3 separate regions of the Homo sapiens genome follow, and all the other regions are linked to region 3. Evidence: promoter capture Hi-C in human tissues and cell types (Jung and others, 2019). All regions are on one chromosome and are shown on one strand. The core of a region is centred on a gene start or on the middle of the fragment in contact, and the rest is flanking DNA. Distances in the headings are between cores, read along the strand shown.

Region 1 (3,673 bases), core at 1,116-3,615, 94 kb after region 3:
GTGGGTGGATCACTTGAGGCCAGGAGGTCGAAACCAGCCTGGCCAACATGGCAAAACCCCATTTCTACTAAAAATACAAAAATTAGCTGGCGTGGTGGTGTGCACCTGTGATCCCAGCTACTTGGGGGGCTGAGGCACAAGAATTGCTCAAACCCAGGAGGTGGAGAGGTTGCGGTAAGCCAAGATCGCACCACTGCACTCCAGCCTGGGTGACAGAGCGAGACTGTCTCAAAACAAAACAAAACAAAACAAAACAAAACAAAACAAAACAAAACTCCTCCTGTGCTCCTTTCCCTGGACAATTTCTTTAGCATTTCAGGAACTGCATTGAAAAAAAAAAATCCTCGCCTTTAATTGGAAGGTTAAATCCCCATAATTAGTTTGGCTCTTTTGGGGAGTGGGAGGGAGATGGGGAAGGATAAGGGTAGAGGAAGAGAGGACAGTGCTTTGAAACAAAAGGAGAGGCAGGGCCCAAACCTGGAGGCAGGGAAAGGGAGGGAATGGAGGGGAGGTTTTGCATTCTGAAAGTGCCTGGGAATGTAGGGTGTCCTTGTGGCAGGCTAGGGAGGCTCTGGTGCTTAAGTGTCATTCTATGTCCAAGCCTGTGCCACACAAGAGTGAGGATGCTGCCCTCAAGAGTGAGGGGCCAGGGAATCGGGCGCAGCAGTCAGCGACTGAAGATCAGACCAGGGGACCTTCCCCAACCTCTGAGCTCAGTTCAGCCCTGAGGTTTCTGTATGTTCCTGAGGGAAGAGAATGGGTCTCTGCCAAAACAGAGGCTGAGAATGAATTTCTAATTAAGTATGGTGGGTAGAACCTGAGTCCAAGATTACCATAAAAATATGGAAGCATGGCATTTCTTATATTCCACTACCACATAACAAATGCTTTCCATTTTAAAAATGATTGTATTTTTGCATCTACTATGTGCCATCCACAAAGAAGGTACTCAAAAACTTGAATAAATGGATGAATGAATGAATACTGAATGACTAGGAAAAGTCACTGTTTAATACAGCAGATTTGAAAAGAGAGAAGAAAGGACCTTTCATTGGCCTCTGGCCTCATTCAGGACTTGCGTTCTGGTCGGAAGGATAAAACTGGCATTTCTAAGTCAATACCAGAGTTTCCTTTTCAGAAGGTAAGACACCGTGGTGCAGAACTAATTACACTTTATGTAGCACTCATCTAAGTCTACTGACCATATGCTGTGGAACCATGGACTGCAGAAAGGGCTGCATTATTTCTACCATGGAGATGTCTATCTATCCATTATCATGAGCACACAAGACAGGGAGAGGAAGAGAAAGGACAGCTGGCCACCCTGTGAGGTGAAGTCTTTCCGCTTCAAGGCAGCACCTGTCAGGCTCCGAGAAAACGCAAGGTATGTATGTACTGGGCAGAATCTCCGCAGGCTCCCAACGACCCCCTGGGACCAGCGGCCCCACCAAGGGTGAGAGCTCAGCCCAGAAGGAGCCCATGTGCTCCTCTATTCTCCTTGAGGCCTCTACTCTTCTTGGCTTTGCAAAGGATGGAAGATTCCGTGAGCCCTGGCTAAGTACATTCTAACCTGGGTCTTGTGCTGTCACCTCCTTGAGTTTGGCTGTGACATAAAACAACTCTTCCTTTTTTCTTAAAAAACGAAACAAAACCACCACCACCACCAAAGTTCATACATGGAACTCTATGTCAAGACCACAGCTCTGGACCAGATCCATATGACCATCACCCGGCCTCACACACCACGCACCTAATGCTGGTTTGTGCTGGCACAGAAACTGTATACCCAAGCTCTGGTCAGAGCCCCATGGCCAGTTAATGCCATTCAGCCACTCATTCCTGCCATGCAAACGAACACTCACCATCTGTCTGCTCCCAACCTCCCACCTCAATACTGCTCTGTGCTTTCTTTCCCTAATTTTCTCCTAGCAATTCCTTTTGACCATTCTCCAGAATTCCTATTCTATCACACTCATTAACAATTTAGAAATCATTAGAGAACTACATACTTAGCTGAAATATCAAAAGGTACTGAAAGGCTAGTCATGAAAAGCAATGTTCCCTGCTCTTCCTCTGCTCTTCTGAAGGCTTCTCTCCAGGGACCCCCACCTTGAACTAGGTTACTTTTCAGTTCTTCTGGCAGTTGCCTTTTTATCATTAATGTTTTTATTGTTATTTCCTGATCTATCCATTTTAGGCATCACTTTAACCAACCTCTTACTGAAACAGAAGGTGATTTTGGTCATCAGCCCCGCCCCTCCCTCCAGTATATATCACTGCTCTTAGTGCCTCTGTTAGTTCCTGTGCCATTATCCTGAGGGTGACAGTGATGGAAAGATGCCACCACAGATAGGAAGTGGACATGACTCTCTGGGATATGGGGAGACGATGTGCCTGTTACCCACACACAGCTACAAGATCAGAAGACAATGCAGCCATAGCCCACTGAAGGGCGGCTTCCCAGGCCCCACAGGGAGGAGCCCTCAGACCCTGATGCACCTGTGCGTCGGGGTGAAGGCAGGAGGCTTGCTGGGAAGCTCCGTTTTCCATTCTCACCAAGACAGGTGGGCTGGTTTGAGGGAGAGGGAGTTTTGCCCCTGACCCCTGAGTGTTCTAGAGACTGTCCACTGTTAACTGGTAAAACCCCCGTACAATGCTGTGTACTTCCTGTAAAGGCGAACAGAACTTCAGCTCCAGGGTGCACTATGCTCCAGGCCCGCCCAGCAGAGGCATGCTCCTGTAGCTGTCTGTAGGAGGCCAAATCATATACTCATACCTTTATTTCTTCTTCTACCACCTGTATTATTCTTTTCATTGTGTAATTTTTTTTCTTTTTTAGTAGGGATGGGGGTCTCACTATATTGCCCAGGCTGGTCTCGAACTCCTGGCTTCAAGTGATCCTTCCGTCTCAGGCTCTCAAAGTGCTGGGATTACAGACATGAGCTACCATGCTCAGCTTCTTTTTCATTTTGGAAAATCTTAAGCTTTTTAAAAAGTAGAAAGAGCACTATAATGAACCTCACACGCTCATCATCCTGCTTTAGTAAATTATCAGCTCAAGGCCAACCTTGTTTCATCCACACTACACTTACTTTCCCTATGATCATATTATTTTGAAGCATTCCCCAGACCCAATCATTTCCCTCTTAACTATTTCAATATTGACAGGAGCACTGAACTTTCTTCTTTGTAAAATTTGGATGTTTATGTCCTCAGCCCTCCCTTTTCTTCTATCTTCTAACTCTCTGGACAAAATTCTAACCAACAACAATCCAATCTTCTAACTCCACGCTGTGTAGACTGAGATAACAGATTCTTGGTTGCCAACCTCAGCCAGCCCATAGCACTGGTCAGCAATTGTTCTGACAATATCAGAAAAAGGTGTCGGCTCCTTTATAAAAGTTATAAAAGTTGTAAAAAAGAAAAAGTTCTGATACCTACCGTAAAGCCCTTATACTAACAACTATATACTCATCTGGCATACATTTAGGGAGTATCTCCAACTGATTAGCACATGACACTGAGGACACTGAGGGATAAAAATGCGATCCTTGCCATTAAGAAATCTTCGTATAGTGGAAACAGACACTCTGCTGTGGAGGTGCAGAGGAGGAAAGGAAGTTGCTATGGGATGTGTGTCATCAGATGGTCCCCTTCCCTGGGTTTCTACACA
Region 2 (3,759 bases), core at 1,185-3,684, 75 kb after region 3:
TTAAATAAGTATGTTTTATTCAAGATACATAGCTATTTCTCCAGCGTATCTTAAATATTCCATCATTTTGCCCAAGGAGAAAGTCTTACCATTTTCTTCATCATTTTGGGGAGGGGGGTGATAAATATTTTCCACAGAGTATTAATACACAGTGTATTATCATTTTGCTGCTTAAAAAATTCCCCAAAATATAAAGAAAAATAGGCTGGGTGCGGTGGTTCACACCTGTAATCCCAGCACTTTGGGAGGCCGAGGTGGGTGGATTGCTTGAAGTCAGGAGTTCGAGACCAGCCTGGCCAACATGGTGAAACCCCATCTCCACTAAAAATACAAAAATCAGCTGGGCGTGGTTGCGCACATCGGTAATCCCAGCAACTCAGGAGGCTGGGGCAAGAGAATCGCTTGAACCCGGGAGGTAGATTGCAGTGAGCCGAGATCATGCCACTGCGCTCCAGCCTGTGTGACACAGTAAGACTCTGTCTCAAACAAACAAACAAACAAAAAAACAATGATTCGATGTTCAATGTAGCTCTTTTCAAATAAAAGTTTTGTATGCCACAGAATACTTAAAAGAAAAGCAGACAAATCATTTAGATTTTAAAATCCCCTGAACACAAGACTGCTCAGCGACATGAAACAAAGATTGAAAAACAAAAGCAAAAGAGTACCCAGCAACTTCAGGTTTTAGCTTATTGTTAAAAAGAAAGAGAGGAAAAAAAGGAGGTAATGGAATAGGGCTTTTGCTCTCTCTGGTTTCCCAGACTTAGGAGCCTAAGTTTTAAAAAGTCAAGTTATAGGGACTTCTGAGTCACATTCTCACCTTTATACTCCCCCCAATAAGATCAGGAGGCTCCTCATCTGTTTCCAAGGCGACATTTACAGAGGCAAAGGGACGGCTGGCCATCTGTTGCATCTCTCGAAGAAGTTGCTGATAAATAATATGGCAAAGCCATTAATGGAATGAGTACTGAAGGGGTTTTATTAGTTAATGCTACATGTTAAAAACACCTCATCCTCCCTGATTCAAACAAATCAAGTCCAAAATGATACTTTTTAGACTTGATATTAGATAACATTAGGGATTACTAAATTTTGTTGGATGTGATAACACCATTGTCCTTATATTTTTTAAAAGCCCCTGTCAGAGATACATATTAACGTACGATGTTTATTGCAGCACTATTTACAGTAGCGAAGACTTAGAACCAACCCAAATGCCCATCAATGATAGACTGGATAAAGAAAACATGGCACATATACACCATGGAATACTATGCGGCCATAAAATAAATGAGTTCATATCCTTTGCAGGGACACGGATGAAGCTGGAAGCCATCAGTCTCAGCAAACCAACACAGGAACAGAAAACCAAATACTCCATGTCCTCACTCTTAAGTGGGAGTTGAACCATGAGAACACATGGACACAGGGAAGGGAACATCACACACTGGGGCCTGTCAGGGGTGGGGAGCAAGGGGAGGGAGAGCATTAGGACAAATACCAAATGCATGCAGGGCTTAAAACCTAGATAACAGGCTGATAGGTGCGGCAAACCACCACGGCACATGTATACCTATGTAACAAATCTACATGTTCTGTACATGTATCCCAGAACTTAAAGTAAAATAAGAAAATAAAGATAAAAATAAAAGTACTGTGGATTTAATGCTATGACGTCGACTTGTCAAATACATAAAATGGTGTGGCTCTATCTCCTCGTATTTCTACTACTAAAGTCAGGCTTGCTTTCTTCCTACTGAAACTGGCACCAAGGATTCACAGGACAACAAAAACCTATGCCTCATTATACGGCAGATAGGAACTGAAAGAACCCTTCCTTCAGAGAGGTGGTATAAGCTAAAAACAAACAAATGTGAAATTTTGCAGAGTAGAGGGACAAACAGGGGCTCGGGATTTAGGGAGGCTTGATGTGAACTCCTGCTCCAATAGTCTACAGCTGTGTGACCTTAAGAAAGGTGTTTGAAGTCTCTGGGCATCCGTGTCCTCCCTCTGAAATGTGTTCCTAGCCCATAAGGTTGTCACTGGGATCAAATGAGATACTACAGCACAGCGCCTAGCACATGGTGAACGGCCGTTCACATATCATTAAGGATATTAGAGATCTTTCTGGGCATGATGCTGAAGCTTTGAGGTTATGCCTTGGGATACAAGTAGGCCTTACTTCAAACTGCCTCCTTGGAACTACTGTAGAAGACAGAATCTTGGCCTGGATAGATATGGCTCTGTTCTAGAAGGGCATTTTTATAAATATTTTCTTAAAATACCAACATTCTTACATTTTTTAAAGCTGTAGGTCCATTTACTCGACTAATATATGCAGCAATGCTCCTTGGGGTCTGTGCTTAAGTGCTGGGGTCACAATAAGACAGGGTTCAGGAGGCAACATGTGTAAAAGCACTTAAAACCGGGGCTGGTGTGTAGCAAGGACTAAACAGCGTCAGCCGCTACTACTATTGTTTTTAAAAATAACATCAAATCATTGCTTCTACAATTCTGAGAGGGAATAAATAATGGCTGACATTTTAAAAATGATGAAATATATTCTGAATGGTCAGCTTCACAGTTACAGAGAAATTCCAAATCACACGGGTAAAAGCATAGTTTATTAGATGACCAACTCCATACTAAACACATATATATATTTTAATCTTTTTCCTGTAGGCTGTGCATCTTACTTTCTCTCATGCACACTGCAAACAATTTCCAGTTGATTGTTTAGCTTCTGTGTTATTCATTTATTTTTTGATATACTTAAGCCTTCATTTTTATGCAGGCAAATCTCTACTACATTGTTTTAATAACTTTATATGAAAATAATAATTTTGTTTCCTTTCCAATAGTAACAACACTTCTTAGTGCCCTTTCACTTAGTGCACAGTCTAGAACATCTAGCACAAAGCTGAATGACTGTAGGATTACACGAAGATAACGAACTTGGGCTGTGAAGACAGAAGTCCCTAGTTAAAGCCTCGTCTGCCTCTTAGTTAACTATGTGGTGTAAGTCACTTCACCTTTCTGAGCCTCAGTCCCCTCATCCATAAAACATAACGAGGGACAATACCTATTTCATAGGTTTGAGATAAGGATTAGTTAATCTACGTAAAACCACTTAGAACTCAGTGCCTGGAATTTTTAAATGCTCAGATGTCAGCTCTTGTTAAAACTAACTAGCCTGGATACAACCTCTGGTGTTTGTTTGTTTTATCATGAGTGATGCTGGTTATCCAGATATTCTTCATAGCGTTAAAAAGGTATTTTTGATTTTACTGTGAGTTTTGTTTTCAAATTAGGAATGGATATTGAGTTTCAATAAATGACGAAATGATTTCTGGGCCACTAGGAAGAATTCAGGTGTTATTTTTTCCCCATTGACATGATATATTCTTTTTTTGACATGATATATTCTAATAGGTTTTCTGGTATTAAGTGACTCTTTCATTACACTGCAATTAGACTGCTGCACATACATTCACTATGCAGCTGCCCTTTGTATTTTGGTGCTACCTTTGTCAGGTTTTGGTACCAAGATTTCTGTGTATAAAATCAATTCGGACTCTTTCAAGCTTTCCATCTGTTCCTTTGCTTTACAGATTTTAGAAACAATTAATTCTCATAAGCACTCAGGGAGGAACAGGCTATCATAATCTCCATAAGCTCATCTCAACCTTGAAACTCCCTGGGTCTAATGTCCTTCTTGGAGAGAGTAGCACTCAAAAGTTTTCAACTCCTTTCTTGATA
Region 3 (4,171 bases), core at 1,095-3,594:
GAGCCACCGTGCCCAGCCTACCTAGTTATTTTTATTTATTTACCTAGTTTGCTGTATACTCAAGGAAATGACAGGAAGCAGTGCTCCCTGACTAATCAAGGTAGACAAGTCTTTGCTCTCCTCATGCTAAGGAAAGGTAAGCAAGTTCTGGGTGTGTTGTTCTGGGACTTAGGCCTTGTATCATCTTGCTAATGTAGCCACAAAATTCTCAGCAGCATCCAGCAATAAATTCACGCATCCACAGGTTGACTGGTCTGGTGGACGTAGGCTGGGCTCAGCTGAGTTTTGTTTCAATCCATGGGTCTGATTCAGGTCATCTGCATGTGTTCGTCATCCTCTTTGGACCAGCAGGTTAGTTGGAGCCTGCCCCTTGCATGGCAATGACAGAAATTCAGGGGGAAAGGCAAACTGCTTAAGTACGTTTCAAGACTTAGTTTGTGTCATGTCCGTGCACATCCATTGGCCAGAGCAAGTCATATGACTAAGGTCAAAGTCAAGGGATGCTTTCCCACCATGAAGCCAAGGGGTGGATGTATAGAGTCCCAGTGGACTGAAGGATTGGTACCCATGTGTCACAACCCCACAGGCCTAGAGCTGGGTGTCTCCGGACCAGCTGTTGAGGGAGGAAGTAATGGGATGAACCCTTTGTGTTTTGGCCGAAAGAGGAAATGGCCCAAGCATAGGAGTGGACACAGGAGCTATAAAGAGGAACAGAGTGATAGAGACCTAATATCTCTGTAGCCTGAGCATTTCAGGGTGGAATGTCACCAGACATCTGCTTTGGGGCACCATGGCCTGCGATTCTGGATCCACCCTGATTTAGGGTTTCACATCCTTTTACACCTGCACACGTGGCCTTGCCCTCAGGGTACAGGGGCCTAATTTGCTGTGGCCAGCTCCCCACCAGTACAGGTAGGCAGGGACTGAGTTGAATTAAGTTTGAGTTGTGAAATTAAAAAAAAAAATGGCCAGGAGTGGTGGCTTACGCCTGTAGTTCCAGCACTTTGGGAGGTCGAGGTGGGAGAGTCACTTGAGCCCAGGTGTTTGAGACCAGCCTGGGAACATAGGGAGACTCCGTCTCTACAAAATAACTTAAAAAATTAGCCGTGCATAGTGGCAAGCGCCTGTAATCCCGGCTTCTTAGGAGGCTGAAGCAGGAGGATTGCTTAAGCCTAGAATTTCGAAGCTGCAGTGAGCCAAAGTGAGCCAAGATTGCACCAGGACACCCCAGCCTGGGCGACAGAGCAAGACACTGTCTCAAAAAACAAAAACAAACAAACAAACAAAAACCAAAAAAAGTCTTGTTGCTTGTATCTGGGATTGCTTGGAGCAATTAACATCTGCTTCACATGTCAAGTGCCTGCACAAACTAGGCCCTCAATAAGATGGGCTGCAGTAATGTAACAGTAACTAGCTGTGGTGGGGGCTTTCCTTTCCTGTCCCAAGGTGGGGGTGAAGGTATAGGATAGTGGCCGGGTGCAGCGGCTCACCTCTGTAATCCCAGAACTTTGGGAGGCCGAGGCAGGCAGATTACTTGGGGTCAGGAGTTCAAGACCAACCTGGACAACATGGTGAAACCCCGTCTCTACCAAAAATACAAAAATTAGCCGGATGTGGTGGTGCATGCCTGTAATCCCAGCTACTCGAGAGGCTGAGGCAAGATGATCACTTGAACTCGGGAGGTGGAGGTTGCCGTGAGCTGAGATTGTGCCACCGCACTCCAGCCTGGACGACAGAGTGAGACTCCATCTCAAAAGCAAAAACAAAACAAAAAGAAAAAAACCAACAACAAGAAGCCAAAAACCAAAAAACGTACAGGACAGTGAGAGGGGAAAGAGAAAACCTGAGGAGTGTCCTGGACATTGGGGCCTTATGTCCCCCACAACACGGGACTGCCTCTTGGGGGTTCTTAAGAGTACTCAGTGGTACAGGGAGGCTCCTGAATGGCTTGGAGAATAACTGCCTTGGTCTGGGCATCGTGTAGTGCATCCCCACCCCAGGCTGGGCGCGCCTCCCTCTCAGGTGTCAGGGAGGAGAGCTGTGTGCAGGAAGCCCCCTTCCACCTCCCCCAGCCTCCCTAAGGGGCTCAGAGAGAGTGGGGTGTGGATTTGGCTGGTGAATGGGAGTCCCCCACTCCATTTCTCACTTTGCCTGGGGAGGCTCCAGCGTTGCAGCGGTCCCACTTCTGCTTGCTGGAGTCCCTAAGTCCCTGGCCTTGCCGAGGGCCTTCCCCTATGGAGGTCTTTCCCGTTTTGGCATTGCGCAAGGCCTGCAGCTGCCTCCCTGACCAGCCTCTGGGTTGGACAGTAGAGCTGAGGCTTTGGGAAAGAGGAAGCAGCCCCTGATACGGGATCCTTCTCTCTTGAGCCGGCAGAGCCCTGGGGAGCCAGCTGCACCAGGAGCTCTTGGCCGTCCTTCCTGTTCTCCTCTCCGCAGGTCCAGCACCGCCGCAGCCACTTCCTTCTGTGGAGCAGGTACCCCTGTCCCTGGTCCCTGGGCCCAGAGGGTGAGTGGAGCATTAGGAGCGGGGCTGGGCTGAAACTGGCTGAGCGGGATAGGGGCAGGGGTCGGGGGGGGGCTCCATCTGGGTGCGAGTGGTGGACCCCAAACCAACCCAAGTCCAAGACACTAATCAAAGATGGACTCAACTGAAACCCTTCCACCACCCCCAAATCCTTCCAACCTGCATCCCAATCCCAGTCCCGACCATCACCCTGCTCTGACCCTACCTCAGCCCCAGCCCCAGCCCCTATTCCAACCTTATCTCACCCTCACCTCACTTGCACCCCAACCCTAACCATTTACTCATCTCATCTAATCCCAACCATCCATCATCCCAACCCTAACCACAACTCCGACTCTATCATCCTCATCTCAACCCAGCCTCCACCGTATCTTAACCATCACCTGCACCCAACTCCAACCTTCACCCTTACCCCCACCCATCACTCAACCTCAATGTCCACCCCAATCCCAGCCTTAATTTGCTTCCAGAATTCCAACCTGATCATCACCCTGACCTCAGCCCCAGCCCAGCCCAACGATAATCTCTCCTTACTCTAACCCCAGCACAATTCCACTTCATCCATCACCACTTCGTCCGTCCACAGGAGGGCTTCTGGTGCTGTCCAGCACAGTTTGGAGAGTGAGCACTCCAGCCAGAAGCATTTAGAGCCAGATTAAGGAATGAAGTGTGAAATTTCTACTGCCCATGTCAAAGCCAATAAGCATTAGTTATGGATTCTATGGCTCTGAGAATTAAACATTTGGCCTGTGATTGGGGATTTCCACTATTTTGACCATAATCTGCTCCAGGAATTGCCCATCCGTACCCTGACTCCCTATCTGTGGGCCAGTAACCTCCAGCTGGCCATGTCACCCTGTGTTCTTCCTTCTCTAGCCCAATGGGGAAGTTGGGGAGAAGCCTTGGTGTCAGGAAACAGAAACTGAATCCTACACCCGGGCCTAGCTGTCCATAGGGAAACTGCCTCTGCCCTTTCTTCCCCAGCTAAACTTGGCCTCTGGAATCAGAGGTCAGGGACTTGGGGCCCCAGCCAACCCTCCAAGACCTCCTGAGGCACTTGGTCTCAAACAGGCAGCAAACGTGAGTGCCCACTGTGTACCAGGCCAGCTCAAGCCACCCTGATGCAACACATACCAATAGTAGGAGTGGGGATTTAAAATCCTGTCTTCAGAGCACCCAAGACTTGGAGACCCAAGTATGAACCTCAGGAACCTCCTGTCTGGGGAACAATGATTTCCAAAAGAGTCACCCAAGGGAGGGATGGTTCAGGGCTGCAGAGCTGCCTGCTCCCTGTTGCTGGCACACCGCCCCCTTTCCCGGGACCCGCAATTCCCCCTCGACCACCAGGGGGCGCTGCGTGCTCACTAGGCCACAGCTGCAACCCAAGTTGCGGGGGGCGGGGGGCGGGGCACTGTCCCCTCAACTCCAGGCTTTCAAACAGGGACAGAGATCTCCTTTCTGAGCGGTCCCTGCTCTTTCTGTTTCCAGAACAGTTATCTGGGCTGAAGCTGGCCTTTGTGGTGACAGGCTGAGCCAATAGGCTGGATTCCGGTGGGGCTGACCCCTTTGGGGTTAGGGCCGGGCTAAGCATAGGTGGCCTCTACATTATGTGATGGGAGTGGTCCTGGAAAGGGTCCTCCCCCGCGC

Evidence for each region. Contacts are between HindIII fragments. The study calls those that stand out against the background at their distance.
Region 1: a fragment that was not itself captured here is called in contact with the fragment with the promoter of SIGLEC1 in region 3 in 2 of the 25 tissues and cell types used here (H1 embryonic stem cells and thymus).
Region 2: a fragment that was not itself captured here is called in contact with the fragment with the promoter of SIGLEC1 in region 3 in 3 of the 25 tissues and cell types used here (bladder, dorsolateral prefrontal cortex and mesenchymal stem cells).

The regions. Positions count from the first base shown.
Region 1 is chr20:3,616,822-3,620,494 of GRCh38, reverse strand. The region is part of intron 24 of ATRN (attractin); the gene reads right to left. Among named protein-coding and RNA genes, the nearest start is that of GFRA4, 45 kb to the left of the region's middle. The HindIII fragment of the contact is 5,534 bases long and covers 1-3,673 here.
Region 2 is chr20:3,635,997-3,639,755 of GRCh38, reverse strand. ATRN (attractin) reads right to left here. Exons shown (of 29, transcript NM_139321.3): 27 at 821-928. Among named protein-coding and RNA genes, the nearest start is that of GFRA4, 26 kb to the left of the region's middle. The HindIII fragment of the contact is 6,634 bases long and covers 1-3,759 here.
Region 3 is chr20:3,710,773-3,714,943 of GRCh38, reverse strand. It overlaps SIGLEC1 (sialic acid binding Ig like lectin 1), which reads left to right and starts at 2,344. Exons shown (of 22, transcript NM_023068.4): 1 at 2,344-2,474. The HindIII fragment of the contact is 16,568 bases long and covers 1-4,171 here.